2 separate regions of the Homo sapiens genome follow, and region 2 is linked to region 1. Evidence: promoter capture Hi-C in 16 types of primary human blood cells and fetal thymus (Javierre and others, 2016). All regions are on one chromosome and are shown on one strand. The core of a region is centred on a gene start or on the middle of the fragment in contact, and the rest is flanking DNA. Distances in the headings are between cores, read along the strand shown.

The links. The method cuts DNA at HindIII sites, captures the fragments that hold promoters and counts their contacts. A CHiCAGO score of 5 or more calls a contact.
Region 2: a contact is called between a fragment that was not itself captured here and the fragment with the promoter of C15orf62 in region 1, in 2 of 17 cell types (naive B cells and total B cells). The highest score is 6.6, in naive B cells.

What each region holds. Positions count from the first base shown.
Region 1 is chr15:40,767,487-40,771,721 of GRCh38, forward strand. C15orf62 (chromosome 15 open reading frame 62) reads left to right here and starts at 2,494. Exons shown (of 1, transcript NM_001130448.3): 1 at 2,494-4,235. The coding sequence starts at 3,010. The coding sequence ends at 3,537. DNAJC17 (DnaJ heat shock protein family (Hsp40) member C17) reads right to left here. Exons shown (of 11, transcript NM_018163.3): 11 at 1-576. The coding sequence ends at 454. It overlaps GCHFR (GTP cyclohydrolase I feedback regulator), which reads left to right. Exons shown (of 3, transcript NM_005258.3): 3 at 1-222. RefSeq lists enhancers at 1,155-1,773, 2,392-3,010, 2,964-3,053, 3,011-3,627. The HindIII fragment of the contact is 5,370 bases long and covers 1-4,007 here.
Region 2 is chr15:40,546,877-40,551,111 of GRCh38, forward strand. It overlaps a transcript of CCDC32 not described here. Among named protein-coding and RNA genes, the nearest start is that of CCDC32, 16 kb to the right of the region's middle. The HindIII fragment of the contact is 1,788 bases long and covers 1,564-3,351 here.

The DNA of each region.
Region 1 (4,235 bases), core at 1,244-3,743:
CAGTGAATGGCCTTCTCTGAAACCCTGCGTCAAGCAGTGGGAGAGGGCAGTGCCCGGTGCCCTGGTGCTCCCAGCTGCCCTCCTGCTTCGGGCCTGGGCCGAGGGCCTTGTGTAGGCCATGTTCCTCGGGCAGCTGCCCCGGGCCGGAGCTGGGCACTCCAGCGGCCCTGGCGCGTGGCTCCTGCATAGCTAGCCCAAGCCAATAAAGGGCTGTGATGAGTGGCTGCGCCTGTGCTCTGCTTGTGCACGGACTCTGGGACTCTCACCCTGCGGAGCGTTTCCCTGGGGGTCTGCCCACTTCCTGGGAGGGGCGCCAGGCCTGGGTGGAGCGCTCTGCGGCAGAGCCCAGCACCTTATACCTATGTATGGGATAGAGGTAAAATCTTAAAAAAAAAAAAAATTTATTGGTGACGTTGAAGAAAAGGGCTGAGGGGTGGATGGCTGGAGCTGGGGCTACGTAGGCGGCCCCTCCTGGTCTTCCTGCTGCATCCGTGCGATCAGCTGTTGCCGCTCGGCCGCCTGGCGCATGCGCATCATGACGAGGCTCTCGTAGTCCCTCTCTGACAGCACTGAGCCCTGTCGGACAGGGCAGGGACAGGGAGGGGTCAGGGACAGCAGGGCACAGCCTCACAGACTCCGAGTACGGTGCCGAGGCAGTGCTGCGTTCTAAGAGTCTCGGAGGGAGGACGGCAGAGGAAGGGAAGGAACCCGGAGCATCCTTTTGGAATCCTGGCTCGCCTGTGTCCCCCAGAACACGCCACCTTTGGCCTCCAGGCCGGCTTCTACCCAGCCAGCTCCCCCTCCCTTTCCCCAGGCCGCGTCAGCTCCGGTCCATCTGTTTCTCAGGAATCACCTGCGGGCCCTCTAAGCCAGGCCCTCGTCTCCCTTCATTTCCTCTGGGCCCTTTACCCTTCACCCCTTTCCCTCTACCCCGTAGCTTCTGCCTCTTAGGTTCCCAAGGAAGGGAAGTTGTCTGAGGAGCAGGGATGCACTTGGCTCTGCTGGGCACTGACCCTGGCACTCTCTATGCCCGGTGCCCTGTGGTCTGGCTCTTGCTGAGGATGCAGAAGGGAGCCCTACCCGAGGCAGCCCGGAATGCCCCACCCTCGAAGGGGAAAAAGGCAAGCATGAGGCCAGCGTGCCTCTAAAACTACACACCAGGGCTCCTGGAGGGCAGGGCCCATAATCAAAAGAATAATAAACAACCATCTGAATGGGCCAAGGCTGTAGGGTGGAGAAGCAGCTCTACAGCGGGACCTAAGCTGCCAACCCACGCCCTGATAAGGTCTGCGGTGGGAATTAAACCTTTTCCTCCCTCGGTGCCGCTTAGGCTGTGTGATGATCATGTGGTCCCAACAGCTTCTCAGAGAAGTGTGAAGCACACCTGAGTTGGCACAGAAGTGAGCTAGGCCAGGGATTGCAAGATGCGGTGGCCTGCCCGTAGCAGAGAGCTGTGGGGCCCTGATCCGCGGTACCCCGCATGGGGACGCTGTCACAGAGCAAGGCAGGAGGAAAATGTGGTGGTCAGTGACCCGGGGAATAGGAAGGGAGCAGCTAGGGTTGAGATGCCAGGCCCTGGCCAGCAGGTTTGGAGTAAGGGGTGTAGAGAAACAGGAAGTGTTACTCAGCCTGGGTTCCCCTGTTCCTCCCGATGGCTGCACCCCTCCCCTCTCCCCGGCTGCAGCAGTCCCAGCTAGGCCGGACTGCTAAGCCTGGCCCAGAGCACGGCTGACAATTCACGGCAGCCTCCCTGGCCCAGCCTCCTGCAAGAGAAGGAGGACCCCAGAGGAAGCCCGGTAGCCAGAGGGGAAGGGCTGGAGCACAGCCAGGTAGGAGGCAACACGGCCCGGCCTTCAGCAGCCGCTCTCCTGGCAGGAGCCCTCTAGGGTAAAACAAGGGAGGACAAGGAAATAGCAGCCAGGCTGATGGCAGGCCAAGAGGAGGCCACATCTCCCATCCCCAGGTTAATGCTGCTCTGCCAAGAAAACTTGGAGCCACCCTTGGCGGGCCCCCAGCCCAACCCTGGGCAGCAGAGCCCGCCCATCACAGGCATGGCGCTGCTCCCCATTAACACACCCTCTGCCCCCCTTCCTGTTCCTGCTCGTGAGGGCCTGACAGCGGGGCTGAGTCACCCATACCAGCTACAGGTCTCTTCCTTCCCCAACAATCGTTCCACACGCCTGCCTTTCAATTAACTCCCACCCGCCCCGAACTCTTCCTACCCAGACACTGTGGGCAGGGAGCCAGGCGCACCTGCTGGGGGCCCAGGGTGGTGGGGCTGTGATCAGAAAGGAAGCCGCGTGGTGACACATAAAGCAGGGCTGCCCCCACACGAGTCCCCAGAGGAATCTTAAGCTCCCCATTGCCCTGGGGTGTTGGTCCCAGCTGCCCCATCCCTGCACGCGGATGCTGCAATTACCCAAGAGCACGAAACCTGGCTTCCCACCTGACTGAGTCAGCTGAGAACAAAAACACATCTCCACCGCCACAAACAGCCAGGCCACTCATCAGAGTCCGGGAGCCACTGGCAGAGAGGGCACGGCCCCACACTGCCCCAGAGACATATAGGAGCCAGGCAAACACCAGGGCGAGTGAGCTCGGGCCATCTGCTGCCTGCCTGTGGAAGGAGCGCTCGCCAGCCTCACCCAGCCCGAGAAGGTCCACCTCTGCCTCCGCCGGAGCTGCCCTCATTCTGGCTCCAGTAAGTGCTGCTTCTTCCTCCTGGGTTTTTTTCCACTACCCTATTCAGTAACCAGGCCACTCCTGTCCCTGTGGGAAACTCTTGCTGCCAGGAACTCCCAGCTGTCTGCTCTCCTGGGCAAAAAAGTTCCTTCTTCCTGAGCCCTCCTCTCACCATCCAAGATGTGGTCAAAGGTCTGTGCTGAGTGGAAACCCTGAGGCCTCTGCTCCTAGGGGAGCCTCCCCAGCTGCTGGCACTCACTGCCCCAGCAGGGACCACATGCACCCTGGCTGCTCCTGAACACCTGTCTGCTGGCTCCCCTGGGCCCCATGGAGACCTGGCGGAAAGGCTCCTTCCGCAACGCCTCCTTCTTCAAGCAGCTGAGCCTGGGGCGGCCACGGCGGCTCCGGCGACAGAGTAGTGTGCTTAGCCAGGCCAGCACAGCAGGTGGGGACCACGAGGAGTACAGCAACCGAGAAGTCATCCGGGAGCTACAAGGGAGGCCAGATGGCCGGCGCCTGCCACTGTGGGGGGACGAGCAGCCCCGGGCCACCCTGCTGGCCCCACCCAAGCCCCCACGCCTCTACCGAGAGAGCTCAAGCTGCCCCAACATCCTGGAGCCCCCACCTGCCTACACAGCAGCCTACTCTGCCACCCTGCCATCGGCGCTCTCTCTGTCGAGTGCCCTCCACCAGCACTCAGAGAAGGGCCTTGTGGACACTCCCTGCTTCCAGAGGACACCTACCCCAGACCTCAGTGATCCCTTCCTCTCCTTCAAAGTGGACCTGGGGATTTCACTTCTTGAGGAAGTTCTGCAGATGCTAAGGGAGCAGTTTCCTAGCGAGCCCAGCTTCTAAATGGGGTGAGGGTGGGCAAAGCCGGGGTGACTGGAAGATCCAGAGGCTGGGGATTAAGGAAAGGACAGGGACAGGACTCCAGGCCCATCGCTGGAGGGTTCAGGCAGGCAGAGCTTCTTCATCCTGGGGGAGGATTCCAGGATAGGAATCCAGGGCTCTGCCTGCTCTCTGGGTCCTGGACAGTCCTTCCAGGCACCCCAGAGTGGAGGGACAGAGGCAATCTGGAAATGTTGGGGGGGCGGCCCTTCCTGGCAGGACCCTGAAGAAAGCTGGCTATGCCGGGAAAGGGAGGCTGTGCCGGGAAAGGGAGGCTCTGTGCGGCACTACAGGAACCAGGTAGAGGCTGGCAGAGCCAGAAGGTGGCACGGGGTCAGATCAGGGAGTGGGAGGACACAGACTGAGCAGAAGAGATGAGTGCCCCATGCCAGCCTCTTTGGAAGCCACTGTCAACAGAGAGAGGTCACAGGACAAGCTTGGGTAAAGGCAGTCCAACCCAGGCAGAAGAGGAAAGTGGGAAGGCCCAGGAAGAAAGGGGAGAAGGCCTGACCCTGTCTAATCTGGTGGCCACTCACTGCATGACACTGAATTGAAATAAATAAAATTAACAGTTCAGTTCCTCAGCTGCACCGTTATTCCAGATTCCACATTCCAAATGCCCGGTGGCCACACATGATTAATGGCTACCACACTGGTCAGTG
Region 2 (4,235 bases), core at 1,208-3,707, 220 kb before region 1:
ATTTTTAGTAGAGATGGGGTTTCGCCATGTTGACCAGGCTGGTCTGAAACTCCTGACCTCAGGTGATACACCTGTCTCGGCCTCCCAAAGTGCTAGGATTACAAGTGTGAGCCATAGCGCCTGACCTATGTTTTGCAGTTTTTTAACTGAATGCCCATGGTGTATAAAACAGCAGAGACTGAGGTAAATAGTATCTGTATCTGGGAGTGGGGCTGCCTCTTCTGTCAGCCTGTTGGTCTGGGGGGTTGAGTCAGTCTTGTTAGGAATTGGACAGGGTTTGGGTTTGGTTGTGCTCTCATTACCTTCAGTGCACCCCAGGTTTCAAATTCCTCTAGTGGTGGGCTGCTTAGAGTGGGGACTGGGGTGTCAGGGCTTCCTCAGTGCTGCTGTCCCACACTCAGCTTTTCAGCTGGCAGAAGACTTCTGTTGCTTGTGATCTGGTGCCAGGCTCAGGCAGGGCAGGGCAGGGTTGATTCTGTTACCCTGGCCCGGCTTCAGTCTTAAATAGGTCCTAGGCACCCGAGCTTCAGCAGTGGGACTTTCTCAGTGTTTCTGTCCCTCTTCCCTATGGAAGCCAAACTCTGCCTTATATGTGGTTCATCTGGGATTAGCCAAAGTTCTTGCCCTCCCCACAACAGAGTGGACCTTCGCTTGAATCTTCAGCCCAGGACAGTTTCCTGCTTCTGCCCCTGGGTAGGGGGTTTCTGCTTCTAGTCCCAGGAGCAATGGGTCTTTGCCTGTTCAAGAAGGGCAAGAAGGTTTTGACACCTCACCAGAAGCAGATAAGTTTTGCTTTTATTCCTCCCACTGAAGCAAAAGTTTGTTACCCCTCCCGCCATGGCTTAAGGCTTTTGCTTAAAGGAGAGGATTGTGGAAGTTGAGGCTTTTTGCCTTCCACCAGCAGCCGCCTTGATCAACCTCTGCATGCATGCATCACCAAGGAAGAACAGTCCCTCCCTTTCCTGACCTGTTCCCACTTTTCTCCATGAACCCCAGGGGAGGCCTGTACAAAAAAGGTTGCCTTTGCACGCACTCTCGTGTCTAGAATCCTATTCAGCTATTCTAAACTGATATGCTAGGCCACATGTGGACTTTACAAATTTGTTAACATTTTTATTGTCTTTTTCTTACCCACTTGTAAGACAGCCACATCTTTGCCAAAGTTGAAACAGTTGATGGGTCACTATCTCTCCTTCTATTTCCTCTCACTCCTATTCATTTCTATGAACTCAGCTCCCCTAACACTATCTCTCCTTTATTTGGTTGCCTTGTGGCCTTGGCTTTCTGATGGGCTCAAGAAAAGTTATGATTTTGTACCTGCTTTTTCACATTGTTAGGACGGAAGGGACATTTTCTTGCAGTATTCTACATCCTAAGTGGAAAAAGTCCTCAAGTACTATCATCTCTTTCTTAGACAACTGCAACCACCTCACAGCTGGTCTCCTGTGTCCAATTTTGCCCCTCTCCCTACTGTAGCCAGCATAAGTATTAAATTCTGCAACCATCGCAGACTAGAGGGGGCTGCAAAATAAAATACTTAAAAATTAGCTACTTAAAACCTGAAGCTTAGCTTATGGTGCATTGGTTATCTATTGCTGAGTAACAAATCAACCCAAAACTTAGTGGTTTAAACCATGACATTTATTGAATCTGTAGGGCTTTGCAGGGACAGCTTGTCTCTGTACCACTTGGTGTCACCTGGGACAGCTTAAAAACTGGGGGATGAAATCATTTGAATTACTTACTTATATGTCTGATGCCTGGGGTGGGAAGACTCAAACAGCTGGGACTCCCTGGGCTTCTCTACCTCTCTGTGGCCGACTTCTTACATGCCGGCTCAGAACTACCAAGGAGCATGCTGAGAGAGAGAGAGAGAGACCCCAGGTGGAGTGCTTTCATGACCTTGCCTCAGAAGTCCCATTATTTATGCTGTACTCTATTAGCAAGGCAGTTACATAGGTCTGCCCAGGTTCAAAGGGAGGGAATATTGACTGAAGATCTCAGGGGAGGAGTGTCCACATCACACTGGAACATGAATGAGTGGGATGGGATACACTGATTTGGCCATCTTTGGAAAATACAATCTGCCATACATGATTCTACTTGTTCTGTAATAGTGAAAAAATAACAAGAAAAATTGAAGTAGAAAATAAAAACAAAGAAAAACCATTTCACATAGACATGTATCGCTGCCAAGTGTGAATAACTTGTCCACCCTCAATCACTTTAATTATGGCAAACCCATGGCAGCCATAACCTTCTAGATGTAAATCTCATCTTGTCACTGCCCCTCTTAAAATCAGCCATTAGCTCCCTGTTCTCCCACAATAAACTCCAAACTCCTTAACATGGTTTATAAAATCCTTCACACCTGGCCTTGTTTAGTAATTTCCACCCTCACCTCTCGTCTGTCCCTCCTTTGTTCTTTGTGCTCCAGCTACACTGAACTACCTTCCATCCTCCAAGTTCCCTTTTGCTTTTAGGGCTTTGCACATGCTGTTTTCCTCTTCCAGGACTCCTCTTGGTCCCCATGCTCTTACTCTTCTATTTCCTCTCACTCCTATTCATTTCTATGGACTCAGCTCCCCTAACACGGCCTCTCTCCTACCCCACTCCAACTGGTCTAGGGCTCTCATATCTCCTTCCCATGTGCTCTCAAAGCACCTTGTGCTTACAACTTCCACAGAATTAATGAGGTAGGCTCTACTCCCCCCTCCATCATTCTATGTGGGAAGATGCCGTTCTGCTTTATTTAACACCATGCACCATGCCTGGAACATGGCAGGGGCTCAACAAATATTGGTTAGATGAATGAATCTCTGCCTTAAATAACCTATTTCTGGGCTCAAGTAAACAGCCCTCGCACAAACCTAACATCCCAATGGCAGTATCCTATCTTGAGTCTTATAACTGACGTAGGGCCAAAGCTGGTTGGGATAATTTAGAATTTTCAAGAAAACCTTGCCTGCTTCATGTGGCTGGGGCTGTTCTCAGCCTTGGAGGACTCCTTCCAAAACAGGGCCAGGGAGAGGCTCCAGGGCTTCCGTCTTCCAGCAATGGTCCTGGTGGGCAGGTCTGCTTGGAAGGGTGCACCTCGGCCACAGCTGGCGGGACGTTTGTTTACTTGCTGTGCCTGCAGCCAGGGCCTATTTCTGGATCAGGTATTGGATGCATGCCTGTGTCACTCCAGCCCTGATCTTGCCAGGCGCTGAGTGATGAGCACGTGTGTGTGCCGGGAGAGAACAGCAGCAGTCCCTTAGGTTATCTGCCTGGCTGCAGCCCAGCCTTCTCTGGGTGTACCAAGTCATTACGGCTTGGCCCGTGTTGGTGATTACCCTCCCCTGGCTCTAAAGCTTTAGCACTAAATATTGCTCCATTTGCTCTAACTTGCTGTCTATTTCACTAAGGAGGAAGAAGGAAGAAAGTCAGGGGTGATAAGTAAGATTCTACCAACTTACAAATCTTACTAGGTTGAGGAAGCCCTAACTGGAGTTCCTTGGAGTTTTCAGGGTCAAAGGAAAGAGATCAGCATTTTAGGCCAATACTATTTTTTCCTATGGTTAGTCCCATTACTGAAAAGGAACTGGAACATGAAGAGGTCACTTGACTTATTTGTGACCATTCAGTAAGCCACAAGACAGATAAAAGACAGCACCCAAGACTCTCAGTTTCAAATTTAGTGCCACTTCACTAGCCTAAGATAAATCTGTATTAACAAGTTAGCTTTGGGAGCTAGTGTCAAATTTGGTTTTGGTAAATGGAGTTTCACCTTTTTTTAGAGCCATTGTTTACGCTGTCACCTCTAAATCAATTAAGAAACTATAGCTACAACTCACTGGGTTCCCTTCCGTGGAGTCGTGCAGAGCTCCTCTCACACCGCACCCAGGTTTACACATGGGCTAGAAACCATTCAACTTACAAACTCTGTTTCAGTTCCTCTAAAGCGATTCTCCACCCTCTCATATTCCAATTTCTGTTTCTGAGGTAGAAAATGGGAAGTAGGGAAAAGGCAAAGCTAGAATCTTGCCTGAATGACAGAAACACTATTTTCGGGTACAGAAACATTCTCTTACCATCCCATGATCTGCACTTTGGGAGAGTGTTTTGGGACCTCATTGCTTTTTTTTTCTTAAACTGTTGTTTCTGAGGAAGAATAATTGTTGTTTGTTTATCATGCAGGGAGAATAAAAATTTTAGTTTTTCTTTCTTTAAAAAATCCATCCTGGCAGGGCACG